7 separate regions of the Homo sapiens genome follow, and regions 2, 3, 4, 5, 6 and 7 are each linked to region 1. The links are contacts of gene promoters, found by promoter capture Hi-C in blood cells and fetal thymus (Javierre and others, 2016). All regions are on one chromosome and are shown on one strand. Each heading gives the region's core, a stretch centred on a gene start or on the middle of the fragment in contact. The rest is flanking DNA. Distances are from core to core; before and after follow the strand shown.

What was found. Contacts are between HindIII fragments. The CHiCAGO score rates a contact against its expected background, and 5 or more counts as called.
Region 2: a contact is called between a fragment that was not itself captured here and the fragment with the promoter of CRTC3-AS1 in region 1, in 1 of 17 cell types (activated CD4 T cells). The highest score is 5.2, in activated CD4 T cells.
Region 3: a contact is called between the fragment with the promoter of NGRN here and the fragment with the promoter of CRTC3-AS1 in region 1, in 6 of 17 cell types (total CD8 T cells, erythroblasts, naive CD8 T cells and 3 more). The highest score is 7.4, in total CD8 T cells.
Region 4: a fragment that was not itself captured here is called in contact with the fragment with the promoter of CRTC3-AS1 in region 1 in 2 of 17 cell types (fetal thymus and non-activated CD4 T cells); the score reaches 5.2 in fetal thymus.
Region 5: a fragment that was not itself captured here is called in contact with the fragment with the promoter of CRTC3-AS1 in region 1 in 6 of 17 cell types (total B cells, total CD8 T cells, erythroblasts and 3 more); the score reaches 9.5 in total B cells.
Region 6: a fragment that was not itself captured here is called in contact with the fragment with the promoter of CRTC3-AS1 in region 1 in 1 of 17 cell types (erythroblasts); the score reaches 5.2 in erythroblasts.
Region 7: a fragment that was not itself captured here is called in contact with the fragment with the promoter of CRTC3-AS1 in region 1 in 1 of 17 cell types (activated CD4 T cells); the score reaches 6.0 in activated CD4 T cells.

The regions. Positions count from the first base shown.
Region 1 is chr15:90,715,865-90,718,811 of GRCh38, reverse strand. It overlaps CRTC3-AS1 (CRTC3 antisense RNA 1), which reads left to right and starts at 1,672. Exons shown (of 4, transcript NR_120372.1): 1 at 1,672-1,831. BLM (BLM RecQ like helicase) reads right to left here and starts at 1,466. Exons shown (of 22, transcript NM_000057.4): 1 at 1,372-1,466. The HindIII fragment of the contact is 2,609 bases long and covers 1,472-2,947 here.
Region 2 is chr15:90,363,365-90,366,657 of GRCh38, reverse strand. No RefSeq gene overlaps it. Among named protein-coding and RNA genes, the nearest start is that of ZNF774, 13 kb to the right of the region's middle. The HindIII fragment of the contact is 7,636 bases long and covers 1-3,293 here.
Region 3 is chr15:90,264,178-90,267,293 of GRCh38, reverse strand. It overlaps NGRN (neugrin, neurite outgrowth associated), which reads right to left and starts at 1,622. Exons shown (of 3, transcript NM_001033088.3): 1 at 1,418-1,622; 2 at 896-1,006. The coding sequence starts at 1,581. TTLL13 (tubulin tyrosine ligase like 13) reads right to left here. Exons shown (of 15, transcript NM_001396017.1): 15 at 1,817-2,574. The coding sequence ends at 2,327. It also overlaps a transcript of CIB1 not described here. RefSeq lists enhancers at 668-1,638, 1,432-1,661, 2,022-2,151, 1,639-2,610. The HindIII fragment of the contact is 8,147 bases long and covers 390-3,116 here.
Region 4 is chr15:90,235,544-90,238,754 of GRCh38, reverse strand. GDPGP1 (GDP-D-glucose phosphorylase 1) reads right to left here. Exons shown (of 4, transcript NM_001013657.3): 3 at 207-263. It also overlaps a transcript of CIB1 not described here. Among named protein-coding and RNA genes, the nearest start is that of GDPGP1, 2.9 kb to the right of the region's middle. The HindIII fragment of the contact is 2,831 bases long and covers 1-2,823 here.
Region 5 is chr15:90,324,198-90,327,488 of GRCh38, reverse strand. No RefSeq gene overlaps it. Among named protein-coding and RNA genes, the nearest start is that of ZNF774, 26 kb to the left of the region's middle. The HindIII fragment of the contact is 8,593 bases long and covers 1-3,291 here.
Region 6 is chr15:90,291,261-90,294,379 of GRCh38, reverse strand. It overlaps the pseudogene GOLGA2P8 and the pseudogene RN7SL736P. Among named protein-coding and RNA genes, the nearest start is that of NGRN, 27 kb to the right of the region's middle. RefSeq lists enhancers at 163-663, 664-1,164, 1,008-1,167. The HindIII fragment of the contact is 3,738 bases long and covers 1-3,119 here.
Region 7 is chr15:90,345,064-90,348,331 of GRCh38, reverse strand. It overlaps the pseudogene GABARAPL3. Among named protein-coding and RNA genes, the nearest start is that of ZNF774, 5.6 kb to the left of the region's middle. The HindIII fragment of the contact is 2,574 bases long and covers 278-2,851 here.

The DNA.
Region 1 (2,947 bases), core at 423-2,922:
GCACATCTAACACTTTTCCTGATTTTTTAACTCTTGGTTTCCTCAGTAAAACGAAGGAAATAACTACTTCTCCAGGTTACTGATAGGACTGTAAACTATACTTATAAGGTACCTGTCATGGTGAGTGGCATTGAAAGTGACACAGGACCCAGAAATTTCATTTCTTCCCAGTAGATTATAAGCTACTGTCTGACAGTATAAGCAGCCCAGCTAACAAAATGTTGATTTAATTAATTCTATTTACTATTCCCCAAACAGAATACTTTTGCCTACCCGCTTCTTCATCTTCTGATCTCTCATGCAGTCTCTCGAATTCCTGTCCCTTAATCTTGACAGTGACACACCAGTGTTATTTATCTGCATGGGTGGCACAAGGAGCTGTCAGTCACCTGCTCCATCTCACGCCATGAGGTACCTAAAGTTCTGTGTGACCTAAGGACAGGTGAGGGCTATAGGAGAAAGCCTAATGTTGTGGGACATACTTTAAAATCAGGCGCTTAGTTCAAATCCTGTATCTCTAGCACTTAATCACCAAATGCTCTTTCTGTACGGAGACAACCTCTTTGTACTTCAGATTCTCCATGTCTAAAATGGGGACAATTTCATCCGCTTCTCTGGGTAATGATAACAGAACCCTTACTGTGTACTATGTAACAGGTAGCCTTCGAAGCATTTATTATTGCATATATTAAGTCGTTTAATCCTAACAAAAACGCCAGGAAGTAGAAGAGACCATTTCCCCCATATGACAGACGAAAACCAAGACACTTAGTGTTTCAGTAACGTGCAGTAGACACAGAGCTAAATGTGAAGGAGCCAGAATTCGAACCCAAGCAATCTGATGCAGTATTCTTAAGCACTTCGCTTTGCTGGGATATCGTAAAGCTACAGTTGTAAGATCAAGGGTGCCAGGAACATGGCACACAGTAGACACTCAAAAACAAGAGTAGCCCAGCTCGTGATTATGGAAGGCCACAGAAAAAGTACAAAGTGTTTTCGTTGTTCCTCAGGAGGGACACGGAGGTAGTAGTGCCAGAGGTCTGGGCTGGGATTACTCTGTGCAGGGCATCATGTTACGCACTGGAGTATATGGGCAACAACATGCCAGGTCCTAGCCCATGCTCGGCCTCCGACGCCCCGGGAGACCTTGGCAGAGTTCGCCCCCGCCCCGGGCCTCTGTTTCCCCATTTGGGAACGTATTTATGTATCTGCTGTCCTCCCAGGATGTTGGCCAGACTAGAGGACTCAGCGGGCCGAGGCGAACCAGTGCAGGAAACGGAAGAACCCGAGCGGCCTCCAGCTCCGGGCCGGGCCGCCAGAGCAGGGCTAGATCAATGCGGACCGACCCGTAGTTACGCGCGCGGTACTCACCTCGCACGCAGACTCCTAGCGGACGGAACCAGGATCCAAACTTCCCGCGCCGCAACCACGGCCGCCGCGCCAAGCCCTGGCTCACTTCCCGCCGGAAGCTTGCCTATTCCGATTGGCTGCTTCCTGGGGAAGCCGACCAATACTGTCGCACTCGGACATCTGTTCCCGCCCCCTCAGGCTGCTGGGGCGGGGTCGCCGTACAGCGCCGGGAGGGACGCGTATCTCCAAAGCCCAATCAGAGTCCGGACGGGAGGGTCAGATGACTACGGTTACATCTCGGGCTTCCGGAGCTAGTTGGGTCTTTGTTTTTGGTGTTTTAGAGTCGGTGAAGGCTTTAAAGGAAGTAGGCAGCTGGAACCCGGCTGTGGCGGGTTGAAAAGCCCGGGCGTTTGAGAGCTGAGACTTGCCAGTTCCCACAGGCCAAGCCAGGCGTCTGCACCCCATTCTCTTGGTTCCGACGGTGTGTCTCTGCGATGTTTTGGCGGTCTCTCCTCTCCATCCCCTTAATAATACTGGTCTCTGTTTCACCCGTACCCCTCTACACGAGCAGGTGCAAATTGTCATTGAACCGGGAAAGTGGGCACACACTCAGATGCCTCCATGGACACGTGAGAAACCATGCTTCTGTTTCAGCCTATTGCTGACACGCGGGAATGTGGGCCCTGTGATGCCAGATCTTACTTTCTTTCCTTTCTTCCTCTCTTCTCCCCTCTCTACTTCCTTCCCTCTCTCCTTCCCTCCCGCCCTCCCTCCTCTTTGTGTGTGTGATAAAATCTATCTAACATAAAATTCACCATTTTTAAGTGTACAGTTCACTGGCATTAAGTACATTCACATTGTTGTGAAACCATCACCACTATCCATCTCCAGAACTTTTTCATTATCCCAAATAGAAAATCTGCCTGTTACACAGTAACTCCCCGTTACCCGTTTCTCACAACCCCTTATAGCCGATATTGCACTTTCTGTCTGTAAGTGCGAGGTACCGCATATAAATTGAATCATACAATAATTGCTCTTTTCTGATTGGCTTATTTCACTTAGCATAATGTCTTCAAGGAGCATCTATGTTGTAGCATGTATCAGAATTTCTTCCTTCTTGAGGCTAAATAATATTCCATTATACATGTATACTACATTTTGTTTATCCATTCATCCATATAAATGGATGCTTGGTTATTCCCACCTTTTGGCTATTGTGAATAATGCTGCTATGAACTTTGGTATACAAATAATCATTCTCCACATAATACGCAGAAAGAGTTTTCTAAAATGTAAAAATCTGTTCAAGTTACCTCCCTCCTGAAAATCTTCTATGGTAAATTGAAACCAAAATATGATACTATTAAACACTCCATAGAATAGCTGAAATGAAAAGACTGACAATTCCCTTAGTTGCAAAGATGCAGAAATGGGACTCTCATACAGTGTTGATGGGAGTGTAAAATGGTACAACCACTTTGGAAACATCAGTCTCTACTGAAATCAAATTTACCCCTACCCTATACCCCAGAAATCCCATTTCTAGATATTTACCCCAAAAAATGAATGCCTTTATTCACCAAAAGACTCATAG
Region 2 (3,293 bases), core at 697-3,196, 350 kb after region 1:
ATTATTATTATTATTGGAGATGGAGTTTCGCTCTTGTCACCTGGGCTGGAGTGCAATGACACGATCTCAGCTCACTGCAACCTCCGCCTCCCAGGTTCAAGTGATTCTCCTGCCTCAGCCTCCCGAGTAGCTGGGATCACAGGCGCCCACGACCACGCCTGGCTAATTTTTGTACTTTTACTAGAGACGGGGTTTCACCATATTAGCCATGCTGGTCTCAAACTCCTGACCTCAGGTGATCCACTCGCCTGGACCTCCCAAAGTGCTGGGATTACAAGCATGAGCCACCACACCTGGCCTCTACCAAAAATTTTAAAAGGCCGGGCTTGGTGGCATGTGCCTGTAGTCCTAGCTGTTACTCAGGAGGCTGAGACAGGAGGATTGCTTGAGTCTGGGAGGTTGAGGCTGCAGTGAGCCATGATCGCACCACTGCTCTCCAGCCTCAGCAAAAGAATGAGACCCCATCTCTAAAAAATAATAAACATATGTAAATGGCATCAAACAGTAAAGAGTTGTTGAATCAGAAGAAGACTAACAAGAGGCCTTCAGATGTGGAAATTAAGTCTTTTTTTTTTTTTAAGAGACAAGTTCTAGCTCTGTCACGCAATCTGGAGTACGGTGGTATGATCACAGCTCACTGCAGCCTTGAACTCCTGGGCTCAGGCAATCCGCAATCCTCCCACCTCAGCCTCCCAAGTACTTGGGATGACAGGCGCACATCACCATGCCTGGCTAATTTGTTGAAACTATTTTTTGTAGAGACAGGGTCTGGCTATGGTGCCCAGGCTGGTCTTGAACCTCTGGGCTCAAGCAGTCCTCTGGCTTCGGCCTCCCAAAATGCTGGCATTACAGGTGTGAGCCACCACACTCAGCCCTAAAAGACCTTTGAGGGTCCAGTTGTAGAAGCATGCTAGGGTAAGTGGCCCTATTAAAAAGGCCTAGGCATGATAACCCTGAGAATATCTACATGTGAGTGGAAGTTTGACAAAAGGGGAAGAGAAGGAATGCGATGATAGGGTCTAGGAGGAATTATTTCGAGGTAAAAGAAGGGTTAGGGATCTTATCTTTTTGTTGTGGTGCCTGCCCTGGTGCTTGGTGATAACGACTCGCTGGAGACCTACTGCGTGCTGGGCACTGTGCTAAGCCCTTTACATCATGGATTGTCTCAAAGCCTTTAGTTTTTTTCTCCGTAATATGACCTACACACAGCGGCCAAATTGACCTTCTCAAGTGCGGATCGCGCCTCTCCTCTCCTATAAAACCACTAGCTACACCCTTTTCTCCAGAGAGTAAGATCCAAACCCTTTAGTTTGGCAGCTAAGAACCTTCTTGGTGTGACCTTCACTCACCTGTCCAGTTTTGTCTCACTCTGCTGCTTTTCCAGCACAATGAGATCCTTGCCCATGAGCATGCACTCATTAATTCATCCAGTAAACACATATTGAGCACCTACCATGTGCCAGGCACTGTTCTAAGTGCTGTGGAAAGAATGGAAACAAGAGAAATGACTCCCACCTTTCGTGGAGTTTACCAAAAACAAATCAATTAATAAGAAATTGCCAGACAGGTGTAAGGACTTTGATGAAAAAAGAGGATAATGTGATGGAGGGTGACTAATTTAGATGGGATAGTTAGGGAAAGTCTTCCTAAGGAGATAGGTTTAGGCTGAAACCTGGTTGACAAATAGGAGGCAACACAAAGGACTGGGCGAGGAACATTCTGGGCAGAGGGAACAGTTAGTACCAAGGGTCTAAAGAGCACACAACCTTGGCATGACCAAGGAGCAGAGAACTCAAGAGTGCTGAGGTGAGGCAAGGGAGAGGGAAGGGGATATCACAAGAGGATGGAGGGGGAGGGGACAAAACCACAAGGGCCTCTTAGGCCTGGGTAAGGATTTGGGTCTTCATTCTAAAAGCAATGGAAAGCTGCTGAGAAGTGATGTGATTCGATTTAGGATTTTAAAAGTTCACTCTGGTTTCTGTGAGTGAAACCAGTTTTTTCAGAGCAAAAATCATATCAGGAAGATCAGTTTGGAGGCTGCTACAGGAATTCAGGTAAGAGACTGGTCATTTGGTACTGAAGGGTGGCAGTGAAGATGGACAGATTTGACAGATAGGTTCGAGAGGAATCTGGGAGGTAAAATTAATGGGGCTTGGTGATGACCTCAATTTTGGAGTGAGAAAGAACGGATGTGTGGAGCATGTTCAAGCAGTGAATCATCTAGTCATGAGGTAGAAACAAAAGAAAACTATAGAAAGGGTTACCTCCACTCTCAGCAATAGCATTGAAATATTCCCTGCTCATGGCTGGCGGGGGAGTGGGGGGGGGTGGGCAGGAAGACAGGGAGGAGGGAGGGGATTGGCAGGGCCACAAAGCAAATCTCACATTGCCCTTCGAGAGCTCACATTTTACCATAGCCAAACAACATGAAAATCAAAGTGATAGGTGGCCAGGTGAGGTGGCTCTCGCCTGTAATCCCAGCACTTTGGGAGGCCAAGGCAGGTGGATCACCTGAGGTCAGGAGGTCAAGACCCGCCTGGCCAACATGGTGAAACCCCGTCTCTACTTAACATATAAAATTAGCTGGGCATGGTGACATGCATCTGTAATCCCAGCTACTCCGGAGGCTGAGGCAGGAGAATCGCTTGAACCTGGGAGGCAGAGGTTGCAGTGAGCCAAGATCATGCCATTGCACTCCAGCATGGGCAACAGAGCAAGACTTCACCTAAAAAAAACAAAAAACAAAAAAACCCTCACATCTTACAATAGCTGAACAACATGAAAAACAAACAAAATGATAGGTGGCCAGGCACGGTGGCTCACACCTGTAATCCCAGCACTTTGGGAGGCTGAGGCAGGCAGATCACCTGAGGTGAGGAGTTCGAGACTAGGTGTGATCTCAGCTCACTGCAGCCTCCATTTCCTGGGTTCAAGTGATTCTCCTGCCTCAGCCTCCCAAATTGGTGGGATTACAGGCACATGCCACCACACCTGGATAATTTTTGTATTTTTAGTATAGGTGGGGTTTTGCCATGTTGGCCAGGCTGGTCTCAAACTCCTGACCTCAGGTGGTCCACCCGCCTCGGCCTCCTAGAGTGCTGGGATTACAGGTGTGAGCCACTGCACCCGGCCTGAATCTGCATTTCTAAAAAGTTCCCAGATAATGCTGATGCTACTGGACTGGGCTCACAGTTTGAGAACCACTGCACTGGATTAACTAAAAAAAATTTTCTGGTCAATTATCTAATGATGCTTTCAAAAACTGAGGTAAGGTTATCAGCTGAGTTCTATCC
Region 3 (3,116 bases), core at 373-2,872, 450 kb after region 1:
TTAGGAGGCTGAGGTGGGATGATCGCTTGAGCCCTGGGAATTGGAGACTAGCATGGGCAACATGATGAGGCTATCTCTACAAAAAATAAACAAAATTAACCAAGCATGGTGGCATGCACCTGTAGTCCCAGCTACTTGGGAGGACGAAGTGGGAGGATGGCTTGGGCCCAGGAGGTAGAGGCTGCAGTGACCGGTGATCACATCATTGTACTCCAGCCTTGGCGACAGAGTGAGACCCCCAACTACCAAAAAAAAAAAAAAAAAGTACCCACAGGAGAGTGGGTGGGACAAATAATTCTCAATGTGTATACCATGTTATACTGTTAGGTTGAGCCATATGTAATACTTTACCTACTCAAAACAAAAAAACTTAAAAACTCTTTTAAGCTTTCCTAAATTATAGATCCTGTCTTCAGAAAAATGCACCTACCTATGGAAGCACCAGCATCCCTGTACCTTAGGTTGGGAACGTCACAACCTACATTCAAGGGTTAAATGTTGTGATGTCTGCGATTTACTATTTAAAAATTTCAGTAAAAATGAACCAACCACGTCATAACGTTAAAAACTATTAAAACCAGGCGGGGCGCAGTGGCTCATGCCTGTAATCCCAGCACTCTGAGAGGCCGAGGCGGGAGAATCACTTGAGGTCTGGAGTTCGAGGCGATAGCGAAACCCCGTCTCTTTAAAAAACAAAACAAAACACTATTAAATCTAGATAATGACAGGGTTAGGGAAGTTCGTTATATTACTCTACTTTTCTGATAATAAATTTCAACGACAAAAAGTAAACGAAAATATAAAAGCAGTATCAAAAAAGCCAAACCCGTTTCTGGGCTCCAGCATCCTTCACTTCTCATCACAGCGGATACAAACAAGGTATCCTGAGTCTCACCGTATCTGCTCCATGGCTTCCCACGTCAGGGTCCTGGGCGGGGCACCAGGCGCCTCCATTTGCCTCCGAATTTTCTGGAATCGGATTGCTTGTTTCTGTCGTTTCAGGGTGCTGGGGGAAGAGAACCAATGGCAGAAGCCATGCGTGGAAGCAGAATGGATGTTTGAAGAGCCTCAGGCTAAATCATGGAGCGCCCAGCCCTCTTCTCTTTGATCGCAAGGGCAACCGGGCCATGTTGCCGGCTTAGAGCTGCTCCGTACACCCAGAAAGCTAACACCTAGAACAATAACTGCCTGTAAGCATGCCGAACTCTCTAAACTGATGATGAAATACGTCACTAATGAAGGGACCAGTGGTCCCAGGGGAGCTGAACACCTGACGCTGCGCCCCTAACAACGGGTAAGAAGAAACAAGGGCCGCTGCGCAAGCAGCGGCAGGACACCCGGCGCCAAGGGGGCGCGGCCTGGAGCGCCGGGGCACGAGGCCCTGCTTCAAGCTGAGGGCCCGGGGAGAAGCCGGTACCTCTCCACCTCCTGCAGCTCCCGTTCCTCCGGCTCCCAGTCGGAATCGGGGTCCGGCTCCCGGCCAATAGGGCCTGGGCCCGCCACCCCCCGGGTCGCGAACCCACAGCGAGTGACGGCGGCGCAAACGCGCCCGCCCAGCAAGAGACTCAGGGTAACCGCCATGTCGACGCAAACCAGCCTTCAGCAGTCGGCTACGAAACAGCAGCGGAAGTAGCCGGGTAAGACCGGAAGTGGAAGGGGCGGGCCGGAGGCTGGGTAGTAGCAAGTTATTTCCCGCTTCACTTGGTGGGGGTAAGATCTGGGCTCACGCTGCTCAGTGGCCCACCCTTTCTGCCTGTAACTGTGGAGAGGGCTTCCCTGAAACGTGAGGGCCGAAATGAGGTACAGGACGCTCCTGGAAAACTGCATAAACTTTAATTAAAGTACGGATTCCGTTTCCAAGAGCCGTCCCTCCGCCCCAGCGGCTGCCCAGGCCTGCCTGTCTCCGCCACCTCGGTGGGCAGGGCTTCCGCTCGGCAGTCTTCTGACGGCGACAGCCCAGTGCCTTGGGCACTCGGCTTCTCTGGGAAAGGGGCTCATTGTCTCCTGGATGGCCTCCAGCCCCGGGCCGCACCTAGGGTTCAGACCCATCACCTAGCGATAAACCCAGGCTAAGGCTTGATGAGCAGAAATGAGTACATGGCTGGCCTTGGCGCCTCTTCATCTTCTAGTCTTTACCGATCCCCAATTAATCTTAGGGTATTGAGGAATTCTTGGTGTCTTTGTATTTTGCCTTATACAAATGGGGTTCCTGGGCAGGGCTTTTCAAAGTGGAACTTGGTGGCAGTCATTCATTTAGCAAAGATTTAATGCCCTTTGGAAACCTGGGGAGGTTATCCAGGAGAGGTAGAGTGCTTCCCTCCTGCTTTTACCTGAACTGATTGATGTTGAGGAGTGCTCTGGAACGCTGCAGCATGGGTGCAGACGCAGGGCAGAGGGGAACCTTGGCTGCTCTGTGTTCAGAGTTTACCATGGAGGGCAAGGTGCATTCAGTCCATGAGTCAGATGCCACTCTTTCCGGTTGCAGAAAATAGCCCTGCTTTGGGGTTAAAGTGGGTGGCACTGATCCTGCCAGGACTCGGTTTATGGCTTCTAGCCTTCTGCTGGCTTGTCCTTCTGCAGTGGAAACATGGATGTCCCTGAGTTGGTATTCACAGAAGAGATTTGTTCACCTCTTTCCCAACTGTGGCCCAATTACCAACACAGAGGAAGGGCATCTCATGCTTCCCTCCACTGTCTTTCCCACACTGTATTGTAATTGGTATGGTATGTCTTTTTGTCCATGTTCCTATTACCTCTTGAGTGCTGGGACTGTATTTCTGCCATTTCTATCACCAGGGTCTAGTGTACAGAAAGGATTAAATAGGCCTGGTGCGGTGGCTTACACCTGTAATCCTAGCACTTTGGGAGACTGATTCAGGTGGATCAGGAGTTCAAGACCAGCCTGGGCTACGTGGCAAAAACAAAATATACAAAAGTTAGCCGAGCATGGTGGTGTGTGCCTATAGTCCCAGCTACTCAGGAGGCTGAGTCAGGAGAATTACTTGAGCCCGTGAGTGGAGTTTGCAGTGAAGTGAGATCAAGCCATTGTACTTCAGCCTTGGCGACAGAGCGTGACCTTGTCTCAAAAAAAAAGGAGTAAATAAATGGGTACCCTA
Region 4 (3,211 bases), core at 159-2,658, 480 kb after region 1:
TTCCATAGTGATTCCAATTGGTCATGCATAGAAACATTTGGGTGAGGATGGCACTGATGTGTGGGTAAGTGTCCAGGGCCAACCTTTCAAGGGGGAAATTAGTGCCTGTCTTCATCTTCCCCTGGCTGCCTGGAGCCCTGGACCCAGCACTGTCAGGGAGAGGGGTCTGCCACTGGCCCAGATAGGATGTCAAAAGGAGGCATTACCTTAGTAGAGTCACTTCAGTCCAAGTTTGGGTTCCTTCAGCTCTGCTGCTCCAGAAACTTCATGTTAATAAAACAGAAAGGAAACAAAACATATAAAAAATTACATATCAAAAGTCAAGCTAAGTTTAATGAGTATTGAGGCTTAGTTTGCAAGATGAAAACGTCCTGGAGATTTGCCGCACAACATCGTGAATGTGCTTAACACGACTATACACTTAGAAATGGTTCAGATGGTCAATTTTTTTTTTAAAGACAGAATCTCACTCTGTCAGCCAGGCTGCAGTGCAGTGGCACGATCTTGGCTCACTGCAACCTCCACCACCCAGGTTCAAGTGATTTTCATGCCTCAGCCTCCTGAGTAGCTGGGACTACAGGTGTGTGTCACCACGCCCGGCTAATGTTTGTATTTTTAGGAAAGACCAGGTTTCACCATGTTGGCCAGGCTGGTCTCGAACTCCTGACCTCAGGTGATCCACCTGCGTTGGCCTCCCAAAGTGCTGGGATTACAGGCGTGAGCCACCGCACCTGGCCAAAAATGTTTAAAAGTGAAGCTAATCCTTTGAGCTGGAGCTGCAAGGTAAAAGACAACAACAACAAAAAAGTGAAGCTAAGCATAATTTTGATGATCAAATGTAGTATCTTATTCTCACCTTACTGCAATGTCTGCCTCCCAGACTCAAGCAATCCATCCACCTCAGCCTCCCAAGTAGCTGGGACCACAGGCACTTGCACCAGGCCTGACTAATGTAGTATCTTATTCTAATAAAAGAGAATCTTATCTGACAGGCGAAAAAATTTAAAATGAGATAATAAAAATAATACAAAACCAAAAAAAGGAGAAAAAAAAGAGATAATCTTAGACATTTTTTCAAATAAGATATAAAGATGGCCAACAAGCACATTTGGGATGTTTAACGTCATTAATCAATAAGAAAAGGCAAATCAAAATCACAATGAGGGGCTGGGTGCGGTGGCTCACACCTGTAATCCCTGGACCAGCACATTGGGAGGCTGACGCAGGTGAATCACGAGGTCAAGATACCGAGACCATCCTGGCCAACATGGTGAAACCCTGTGTCTACTAAAAATACAAAAATTAGCTGGGCGTGGTGGTGGGCACACACCTGTAGTCCCAGCTACTTGGGAGGCTGAGGCAGGAGAATCACTTGAACCTGGGAGGTGGAGGTTGTGGTGAACTGAGGTGGTGCCACTGCATTCCAGCCTGGTGACAGAGCAAGACTCCATCTCAAAAAAAAAAAAAAAAAGGGAAAAAAAGAAAATTACAATAAAGTCCGGGCACGGTGGCTCACGCCTGTAATCCCAGCACTCTGGGGGGCCAAGGTGGGTGGATCACGAGGTCAGGAGTTCGAGACCAGCCTGGCCAATATGGTGAAACCCTGTCTCTACTAAAAATACAAAAAAATTAGCCAGGTGTGGTAGTGGGCGTCTGTAATCTCAGCTACTCGGGAGGCTAAGGCAGGAGAATCGCTTGAATCTGGGAGGCAGAGGTTGCAGTGAGCTAAGATCGCACCACTGCACTCCAGCCTGGTGACAGAGTGAGACTCTGTCTCAAAAAAATAAATAAAATAAAAAATAAAAGTATATCAGCAGCTCGGTTTTATCACTGTACCAAGAGTTGATCAGGTACAGGAGGGACAATATGCTAACCAGATTCACCGAGGACTACCAAATGATTCAGACTGCCCATTTAATAATCTACCATGAGAGGCCGGGCGTGGTGGCTCAGCACTTTGGGAGGCTGAGGGAGGCGGATCAAGAGATCAGGAGATCGAGACCATCCTGGCCGACATGGTGAAACCCCGTCTCTACTAAAAAAAAATACAAAAATTAGCTGGGCGTGGTGGTGCACTCCTGTAATCCCAGCTACTCAGGAGGCTGAGGCATGAGAATCAGGTGAACCTGGGAGGCAGAGGTTGCAGTAAGCCAAGATCATACCACTGTACTCCAGCCTGGTGACAGAGTGAGACTCCATCTCACAAATAAAAATAATTTACAATGAGAAATATGCCAAATGGCACAAAAGGTTCTTGCTGGCTGGTCAGTGTACAAAATGAATCAGGAAGCAAAATGAAAACCAAAGGTTGTTCCATGAAGGGTTCAGAGCCAAGTGAAGTGACTGAGAGATCTAGATCACAGCTGGTCACCAGGCACAAAGCTGACTCTCATGTCTTCACTATAAAGAGATACTTATGGCTGGGTGCAGTGGCGCACGCCTGTAATCCTAGCACTTTGGGAGGCCAAGACAGGCGATCACCTGAGGTTGGGAGTTCGAGACAAGCCTGACCAACATGGAGAAACCCCGTCTCTACTAAAAATACAAAACTAGCTGGGTGTGGTGGCACATGCCTGTAATCCGAGCTATTCAGGAGGCTGAGGCAGGAGAACTGCTTGAACTCAGGAGGCGGAGGTTGCGGTGAGCTGAGATCATGCCATTGCACTCCAGCCTGGGCAACAGGAGTGAAACTCTGTCTCAAAAAAAAAGAAGACAGATACTTATTACCATGCAGTCCAGGTATTCGCCTTGGCTTGTAAGAGGCAAACAAGGTCTATTTAGTACAGGAGACATAATGACAGCTTCTTGCTTTTTGCCTAAGCTTTTACTAACAGAAGACTAACTCTTTCTCGGACAGAAAGAGCCTGCTATTAAGAGAAAAATGATCGGCCGGGCACGGTGGGTCACGCCTGTAATCCCAGCACTTTGAGAGGCCGAGGTGGGCGAATCACGAGGTCAGGAGATCCAGACCATCCTGGCTAACAGGGTGAAACCCCGTCTCTACCAAAAATACAAAAAAATTAGCCGGGTGTGGTGGCGGGTGCCTGTAGTCCCAGCTGCTGGGGAGGCTAAGGTAGAAGAATGGCGTGAACCCAGGAGGCGGAGCTTGCAGTGAGCCAAGATCATGCCACTGCACTCCAGCCTAGGCGACACAGCGAGACTCTGTCTCAAAAAAAAAGAGAAAAATGATCAGGTTGGGATGGGCCTATAC
Region 5 (3,291 bases), core at 732-3,231, 390 kb after region 1:
TGTAAAACTGAAACTCTATACCCATTAAGCAATAACTCCCCACTTTCCCCTGTCCCCAGCCCCCGGCAATTATCGTCATATTTTCTGTCTCTATAATGTTTTTATTTTTTATTCTTTTGAAACAGGGTCTCGCTCTGTTGCTCAGGCTGGAATACAATGGTGTGATCATAGCTCACTGCAGCCTTGACCTCCCAGGTTCAAGTTATCCTCCCACCTCAGTTTCTGGAATACCTGGGATTACAAGCGTGTGCCACCATGCCTGACTATTTTATTTTATTTTATTCTATTTTATTTTATTTTTGGAGAGAGAGGGTCTCACTATGTTGCTCAGGCTAGCGTCAAACTGCTGGGCTCAAGCAATCCTCCCACCTCGGCCTCCCAAAGTGCTGGGATTACAGGTGTGAGCCACTATGCCTGGCCTCTAAGATTTTAACTACTCTAAGTACCTCATATAAGCTGACTCGTACAGTATTTGTCTTTGTCTGACTGGCTTATTTCACTTATAATGTTCTCAGATTTCACCTGTCTCAAAAAATAAAATAAAATAATATTGATTGAGACTTAATTTGTAGCCTGACCTACCAACACCTGCCTCACGCACAGCACGCCCATCTAGATTTCAATTGTAGTTGCTATGCGTATGGTGGCTCAGTTCAGCTGGGCTCAATTCCTGGTGCTGATTGTAATGCTACTTTGGGAAGCTAAGGAAGGGGGATTGCTTGAACCCAGGAGTCAAGGCTGTAGTGAGCCATGATTGTGCCACTGCACTCCAGCCTGGGTGACAGAGCAAGACCTTGTTTCAAAAAAAAAAAAAAAGGAAGAAATGATTACAACCATCGATTAGTCATTAGTGCCATGCCTTAGCTGAGAACTTCTTCTCTGGGCCATTCTGCAGCCCTCTGGAATGGCTTTAGGACCTGGCTACCAGGCTCCCCTTATCCCAGTGTCTTGCTCTCATCCTCAGTGGCTTCAGCATACTTATTTATTTTATTATTTTTTTTGGTGGGGGGACGGAGTTTCGCTATTGTCGCCCAGGCTGGAGTCCAATGGCACGATCTCAGCTTGCTGCAACCTCCGTGTCCCGGGTTCAAGTGATTCTCCTGCCTCAGCCCCCTGAGTAGTTGGGATTATAGGTGCCCGCCACACACCCAGCTAATTTTTTGTATTTTTAGTAGAGATGGGGTTTCACCACGTTGGCCAGGCTGGTCTAGAACTCCTGACCTCAAGTGATCCACCTGCCGTGGCCTCCTGAAGTGCTGGGATTACAGGTGTGAGCCACCGTGCCCGGCCTCATCCTTATTAATTACAGCACCACCACCTGTGCTCATGGTCCCTTTACCTCCTCTGCTCCAGTAACCTCGAAAGGCCAGCCACATCACAGAGCTGCTTCCATTTCAGCCTCTCAACTCCATCTCTCCTTTTCCCTTAGAATAACTGGGGCTGCCCATTATCCTTGCCACAGCCTCCTCTGCTTCCTTGCTTATTGTTCCTTTTCTACCTCCTCCCTCAGTCTGGACTCCACGGTCGGCTCTTCAACCATGTTCCTGCTAGTGGCTTACGGTTCCTGTTCTCCAACTTTCTAATCTACCTACTGTGTCATCCCCAAGCAGGGGATTCCCTGCCATCTACTTCTGCAACTCTCAGGCTGGCAGAAGTGGCCTCCATGCTGCCCAGTCAGAAGGGCCTGTGTGGCCAACACAGCTGCCGCCCCAGTTCCATCCTTCATTCTCTTTCCTTCCAGTTGTCCAGGCCTTGCCATCTGACTGGCCTGGAGAGTAGGGAAGAGATGGGGAAAACAAAGGAGGGGTGCAAACATCTGGAGCTCAGTGCCCTGGTCTGCTCAGCCTGGGGGAGATTCTCCTCCCTCCTCTTCCTCCCCTGCTCTGTTCCTTCACCTTCTTCCGCCTTGAGGACTCCCTGATTCCCTTATATATCCATGAAAACTTTTACATCACTAAATAAATTGCCTTTTTTTTTTTAAATGAAGTCTCTCTCTGTTGCCCAGGCTGAAGGGCAGTGGCATGATCTCGGCTCACTGCAACCTCCGCCTCTTGGGTTCAAGTGATTCTCCCACCTCAACCTCCCGAGTAGCTGGGATTACAGGCGTGCGCTACCATGCCTGGTTGACTTTTTTTTTTTTTTTTTTTTTTTGGATTTTTAGTAGAAACAGGGTTTTACCATGTTGGCCAGTCTGGTCTCAAACTCTTGACCTCAAGAGATCTGCCCACCTGGGCCTCCCAAAGTGCTGGGATTACAGGTGTGAGCCACCATGCCCCAGTGAAATTGCTTAATTTCACAAACATTTTGAGAGTCAACTGGGAACTGTCAACCTAGAAGGAAGCTGAAGCAAAATTAATATAAGTAGAGAATTTATCTGGGGCTGGGCATAGTGGTACACTCCTGTAATCGAGGATTCTGGGAGGCTGAGTTGGGAGGATTGCTTGCCAGGAGTTTGAGAACAGCCTGGGCAGCATAGTGAAACCCCATCTGTACAAAAAATTTAAAAATTAGCCAGGCATGGTGGCTCATGTCTGTAGTCCCAGCTACTCAGGAGGCTGAAGCAGGAGGATTGCTTGAGCCCAGGAGTTCGAGGTTATGGTGAGCTAAGATCCTGCCACTGCACTCCAGTCTGGGCAACAGGAGCAAGACCTTTTCTCTTAAAAAAAAATAAATAACAATAGTAAGACAGAGGATCTATTTGGGCCAAGCTAGATATTGCAAACTGGGAGCATAGAGTCAAGTTACCCTCAGTATACATCCTGATTAGCAGCAGTTGTGAGGCAGGAGGCAGGCCTGTACTCCAGGCCAGATTGAAGACTAGCTGAAACAGGGAAGAGGGGAAAGCACCTCTCCATAACACATGCCCACCAGTGCCATGTCAGTTTACCAGTGCCCTGGCAACACCCAGAAGTTACTGCCCCTTTCCATGGCAACAACCTGGGAGTTATACCCTTTTCCTAGAAATTTCTGAAAAACCCATCCCTTAATTTGCATGTAATTAAAAGTGGGTATAAATATGACTGTGGAACTGCCCCTTAGCTGCTACTCTCCACACACTGACTATGGGCTAGCTCTTCCTGCAGGAGCAGTTACAGAGCGGTAACACTGCTGCCTCAATAAAACTGGTTTTGGTGGCGGGGCGTGGTGGCTCACACCTGTAATCCCAGCACTTTGGGAGGCCGAGGTGGGTGAATCACCTGAGGTCAGGAGTTCAAGACAAGCCTGACCAACATGGTGAAAATACAAAATACAAAAATTACTAAATTATTATTATTACTAAAAATAATAGCC
Region 6 (3,119 bases), core at 1-2,500, 420 kb after region 1:
CTGGGATGTTCGGCATGGGCTGAGGCGCCTCCTCCTCCATCTCCTGTGGGGGGGTGGCCAGAGGGGTCCTCAGACAACCCAACAAGGGAGGTACTGTGGGCTCACCTCTGCCCCCACACTCACTGTGTAACCTTGAGCCAGCCCCTCCCCAGAGGGGAATGAGCTGTTCTTTATTTTTACTTTTAAGAACCAAGATCTTGCTATATTGCCCAGGCACAGTCCCACTACCGATTGGTGCAGGAATTCTGACCTGCTCCATTTCTGACCTGGGCCAGTTCTCCCATCCTTAGGCAACCTGGTGGTCCCCCGCTCCCAGGAGGTCACCATATTGATGCCAAACTTAGTGCAGACACCCAGTCAGCATAATGGCCAGCTGTCTTAAAGGTCTCTTCCATCTCCTCAATCCTACAGTGCTAACAGTCCCCCTTTCCTCCTGGGGCTCTCTCCTCTTCCTCTGAGTGGTGTCCCGTACCTTCCCCAGGGAGAGCCATGAGGCTCAACTGGGCCTGTAGTTGCTGGTTCTGCTGGCTGGTAGCTTCCAGGTGCTCCTGAGATGCCAGGAAAGAGGGTGAGAAGGCACAGAGGTTGCCAGGTTGTCCCTCTTGGGGCCCCGTCCTCAGCAACTCCCTCCCCTGGGTCTCCTGCAACTTTTGGCGGGCCATCTTAGCCACTGCTTTGCCCTGAGCTTCCTGCTGCTGCAGCTGGTCCAATGAGCCGGGTCTGCAGCAGTAACTGCCTGTGCAGCGCCTCCTTCTCAGAGGTCAGCTGCTGATAGGCTGCCACCTGCTGCTGATAAGTGGCCACGTACTGCTTCAGGTGACCCAGGTACTGGCCTCGCTGCTGCTGCAGACTCTGAGCCTCTTGGCTCTTCAGCTCCACCTGCTGGAAGTCCCTGGGCATGAGGGCAGCTGGTGGCTGGCTTCCAGATTCCTGGCCCATTAATAGGGTAGTGAGGGCACTGTGGGGCTCTGTGGCCTGCCCAGGCCCCTGGCCCCTTGCTCCAGGCCTAAGAGACTGCCTCCCTTGCCTAGAACCCCATGCCTCCTTCCCCAGCCTCAAATCTCACGTTCTTCTTCCAGCCATTTAAACTGTAGGCCACAGACTGGTGGAAAAGCAGAGGGAGCCAACCACCATCTGCTAAGTGTGCTACATGCCTAATGTTTCCACGTATTATCTCATTTAACCCTCGGCACCTCTGCGAAGAAAAAGCTCACTTCCTTTTGAAGTTAAAGAAACAGAGACTTAGAGATGGAAAGTAGTTGAATGATGACCAGTGGAACCGAGGCCGGAATCCAGTTTGAATCTAAGGAGTCGTTTTGGTTTTTTTCATATTTTGTTTTGGGACAGTGTCACTCTGTGTCCCAGGCTGGAGTGCAGTGGTGCGATCTCAGCTCACTGCAACCTCCACCTCCTGGGCTCAAGTGATTCTCATGTCTCAGCCTCCTGAGTAGCTGGGATTACAGGCATGCACCACCATGCCCGGCTAATTTTTTTTTTTTTTTTTTTTTGTAATTTTGTAGAGATAAGGTTTTGCCATTTTGGCCAGGCTGGTCTCAAACTCCTGATCTCAAGTGATTCTCCTGCCTCAGCCTCCCAAAATGCTGGGATTACAAGTGTGAGCCACTGCACCTGGTATAAGGAGCCTCTTATGCCACTGTCTCTTCCTCTGTGATTGGAGGGCTCCATGCCTCTAGCTGGGATGATGATGTCCAGACCTGGGAGGAGCCAGGGCTACCCACCTCTAAAAGTCAGAGGGCAGGAAGCAAGAAACAGTCATAGGACTGCCCTGGAGGGTGCTGGGGTCACCTGCCCCCAGGCTGCAGCTGCCTCTGGCCTGGCACCTCCCCTCCCCAGAGGCTGGTGCCCGCCTCCCAGACCTTCTTGGACGGGTCGGAGGTTACCGTCCCCTTCAGCTAGCCCAGCTTCTCCTGCAGCTCCTTTACTTGCTGCTCCAACTGCAGTGCGCTCTTGTTCTCGTTCTGGACAGAGAGAAGCAATCAGCAGCCACCCGCTGCAACTGGAGACCCCAGAACTTGGTGTCTGCCTCCCATAGCACTGGGAAGGGTGGAGGGAGGTTAGAAAAATCATCCCCTCTCTCCCACAGCCATCAGAGCAGGGCTCCGGCTCACAGGTGCCTTAGAAGTACCATTTCATGTGAGGGCTACACTGCCCCATTTTACAGGTGGGGAAACAAAGGCCTGGCGGGCTAGGGAGGAGGGCTGGGGTTGGGGGGCCCAGTCCAGTGTGCCTCAGGGGTGGTATGGACTCCGGCAACGGTCTTGTTGTCGGAGGGGATCTGTGGCTGGGTTGGGGGCCATGACCTGGTGCGTTTTACCTTTTTCCTGGCTGCGGCCCATTTGCCCTGTCGTGTTTTTTCTGACATCATGGGGTGTGGAGGGAGGCGGGGTTGGGCCACATCAGTGAAATCCCAGTGAGCACTGATGAATGCCTCCAGTCACCTACCAGGCAGCTGTGCAACTGAGCCAGAAGAGGCATAACCGGGGCCCCACTAGAATGCAGAATAGGGGCGTGGCCTTAATGCTCCAAGCCCATTGGTCAATGAGAAATATGAAAGGGAAAGGAGGCGTGGCCAGGTAGCACCGTGTCCAGAAGGACCTGTGGTTCACAAGGAAAGCTGCCCATGCAACCGCTGTACCCGACCACTCAGAGAGAGGGAGGGGCCGCCCACTCAGAGGGGAGGGGCCGGCTTTTGCTTTAAAACCTTTAAAACTGTAAAAAATAAACTTTAAAAAATGTATGTGTGTATTCTTTATATATATGTGTGTCTGTGTGTGTGTATCTACGTGTTCCTCCAGAGCTGTCTCCATTATCCAGCTTCTATGCAAGGTCTATAATTTTGGCCTATATTTTTCATCTTCAAATGGAGTACAATAATTACCAGTATTACCTTAACTGAGATACAGATCCTATAAAAATGGAAAATCCATAGCATGCTTGATGATTAATGAAGCAGGCTATAGTATCCAACATTCCAATAAGATAAAATAATCACAATGATTTCTCTTTTTTTGGAAAAACGTTTCTTTTATTCTCCTACATTATTAAGATTTTTTTTTTAAAACAAGAAACATGTCAAATATCTTGAAAAACACAAAGCT
Region 7 (3,268 bases), core at 315-2,814, 370 kb after region 1:
CCACACTTCTTTTCTCCCATCCCAGTTGCAATCTCACTCACAAACATCACAGTACCACCCCAGGGGCGGCAGTAGACACCAACCCAGAAATTTAGACAGGGATCTCTTATCTTTGGAAAATAGGGGTTAGGCATGAGGGTGGTTATGATTAAGAAGATAATTTTGTTGTTAAATAGCATTAAACTGGAATTGACAGAGTGAGTTGAGCATCTCTGTCTAACCTGCTCTTTCTCTCTGGTGCTCCTCATCTCACCCCTACCTTGGAATTTAATAAGCTTCAGGCATTTCCAATTGCAGACTAAAACCACTTCTACCATCTCCTCTAGTATTTTCCATGTATCAGGACAGAGATGTCTTATGTAGGGAAGGGGCAGGTATGAAGTGAGGTAGATTATCTATACCTCTCACTCATTCAGGATTCTCGCTCCCATGCTGCTGTCCCTTCATTCTCACACTCACAGGAATGCTATGTGATGGCCAGCTGCTTCCCTTCTTGGTTATCCACTGCAGCTGCTAGTTAGAAAGGTTTGCAGGGATGACTTTTAGTAAATCATGGGGATTTTATTGATTTATTATCACTTATAGGATTTTGTGGGGTGGGAGTGGGGAGCAGGAATTGCACTCAGACATGACATTTCAATTCATCTCTGCAAATGAAAAGGGTTCTTCCTCTTGGGGGAAATCTGTGTGTCAGTTCTGTCAGCTGCAAGTTCTTGTGTAATGAAGTCAATGCTGTCAGGCCAAGTGAAGGGAAAAGAGAGATCAGACTGTTACTGTGTCTATGTAGAAAGGAAAGACATAAGAGACTCCATTTTGAAAAAGACCTGTACTTTAAACAATTGCTTTGCTGAGATGTTGTTAATTTGTAGCTTTGCCCCAGCCACTTTGACCCAACCACTGTGACCCAACTTGGAGCTCACAAAAACATGTGTTGTATAAAATCAAGGTTTAAGTGATCCAGGGCTGTGCAGGACGTGCCTTGTTAACAAAATGTTTACAAGCAGTATACTTGGTGAAAGTCATCGCCATTCTCTAGTCTCAATAAGCCATGGGCACAATGTACTGTGGAAAGCTGCAGGGACCTCTGCCCTTGAAAGCGGGGTATTGTCCAAGTTTTCTCCCCGTGTGATAGTCTGAAATATGGCCTCGTGGGATGAGAAAGACCTGACTGTCCCCCAGCCCGACACCCGTAAAGGGTCTGTGCTGAGGTGGATTAGTAAAAGAGGAAAGCCTCTTGCAGTTGAGATAGAGGAAGGCCACTGTCTCCTGTCTGCCCCTGGGAACTGAATGTCTCGGTATAAAACCCGATTGTACATTTGTTCAATTCTGAGATAGGAGAAAAACCGCCCTATGGTGGGAGGCGAGATATGTTTGCAGTAATGCTGCCTTGTTATTCTTTACTCCGCTGAGATGTTTGGGTGGAGAGAAACATAAATCTGGCTTACGTGCACGTCCAGTCATAGTACATTCCCTTGAACTTAATTATGACATAGATTCCTTTGCTCACATGTTTTTTGCTGACCTTCTCCTTATTATCACCCTGCTCTCCTACTACATTCCTTTTTGCTGAAATAATGAAAATAATAATCAATAAAAACTGAGGGAACTCAGAGGCCGGTGCCAGTGCAGGTCCTTGGTGTGTTGAGTGCCGGTCCCCTGGGCCCACTGTTGTTTCTCTATACTTTGTCTCTGTGTCTTATTTGTTTTCTCAGTCTCTTGTCCCACCCGACTAGAAATACCCACAGGTGTGGAGGGGCAGGCCACCCCTTCACCAAGGAAATGAAATAATTGCTTACCTTAAAAAACAAAACAAAACATTTGCCAGGTGCAGTGGCTTATGCCTGTAATCCCAGCACTTTGGGAAGCTGAGGCAGGAGGATTGCTTGAGCCCAGGAGTTCAAGACCAGCCTGGGCAACATGGCAAGGCCTCGTCTCTACTAAAAATAAAAAAATCAGCTGGGTTTGGTGATGCGTACGTGTAGTCTCAGCTACCTGGGAAGCTGAGGTAAGAGGATCACTTGAGCCTGGGGAGATTGAGGCTGCAGTGAGCCAGGATGGCACCACTGCACTCTGGCCTGGAAGACAGAGTGAAACCCTGTCTCAAAAAAAATTATTTTATTTCTGTTGATTAGGAATCTGGAACAGCCTAGGTGAGTATCTCTAATTGAAGGTCTCTCACAAGGTTGCAGTCTAGACACTGGCTGGGACTACAGTTATCTGTAGGATTGACTGGGGCTGGATGATCAGCTTGCTCCCAAGCTCCCTCATGTGACTGTTTCCTCACGTGTAGCTTCTCCTCACAACGTGTCAGCTGGCTTCCCCAGGGTGAGTGATTGAGAGAAAGAAGCAGAAGCTGCAATCTAACCTTGGAAGTGATAGACCATCATTTCTGCCATACTCCTTTGGTCACACAGACCAACCCTGGTACAGTGTGGGAGGGGACTACACAAAGGTATGAATACTTGGAGGCAAGGATCACAGTGAGTGTATTAGTCTGGGTTCTCCAGAGAGAAAGAATCAATAGGATATATAGATATAGAGAACCAGGGAAGCCAGTAGTGTGAGTCAGTTTAAGTTCAAAGGCCCAAGAACTTGAGGGGCTGCTGGTGCAAGTCCTGAAGTCTGAAGGCTGAAGAACCTGGAGTTCTGATGTCTAACATCAGGAGAAGGGTGTCCCAGCTCAGAAGAGAGAGAGAGAAAATTCGCCTTTCCTCTGCCCTTTTGCACTATCTGGGCCCTCAGCTGAGTGGATGCTACCATCCACCCTGGGTGAGGGCAGATCTTCCTTATCAGTCTACTGATTTAAATGCCAGTCTCTTCCAAACACACTTACAGGCATAACTATAAAGCTTTCTCAGCTATCTGGGTATTCCTTAATCTAGTCAAGTTGACACCTGAAACTTTTTTTTTAGAGACAGGGTCTCACTCTCTTACCCAGGCTTCCATGCAGTGGTGTGATCATAGTTCATTGCAGCCTCAAACTCCCAGGTTCAAGTGATCCTTCCACCTCAGCCTCCCAAGCAGCTAGGACTATAGGCATGTGCTACTGCACTTGGCTAATTTTAAAATTTTTTATAGAGAGGGGGTCTTGCTATGTTGCTGAGGCTGGTCTTGAACTCCTGGGCTCAAGTGAGCCCCCTGCCTCAGTCTCCCAAAGTGCTGGGATTACAGGCTTGAACCACCACACCCAGCTGACACCTAAAATTAACCATCATAGTGGGCCACCTTAGAGGCTGACTACCACAGGGACTACAGAGGACTTTAGGAC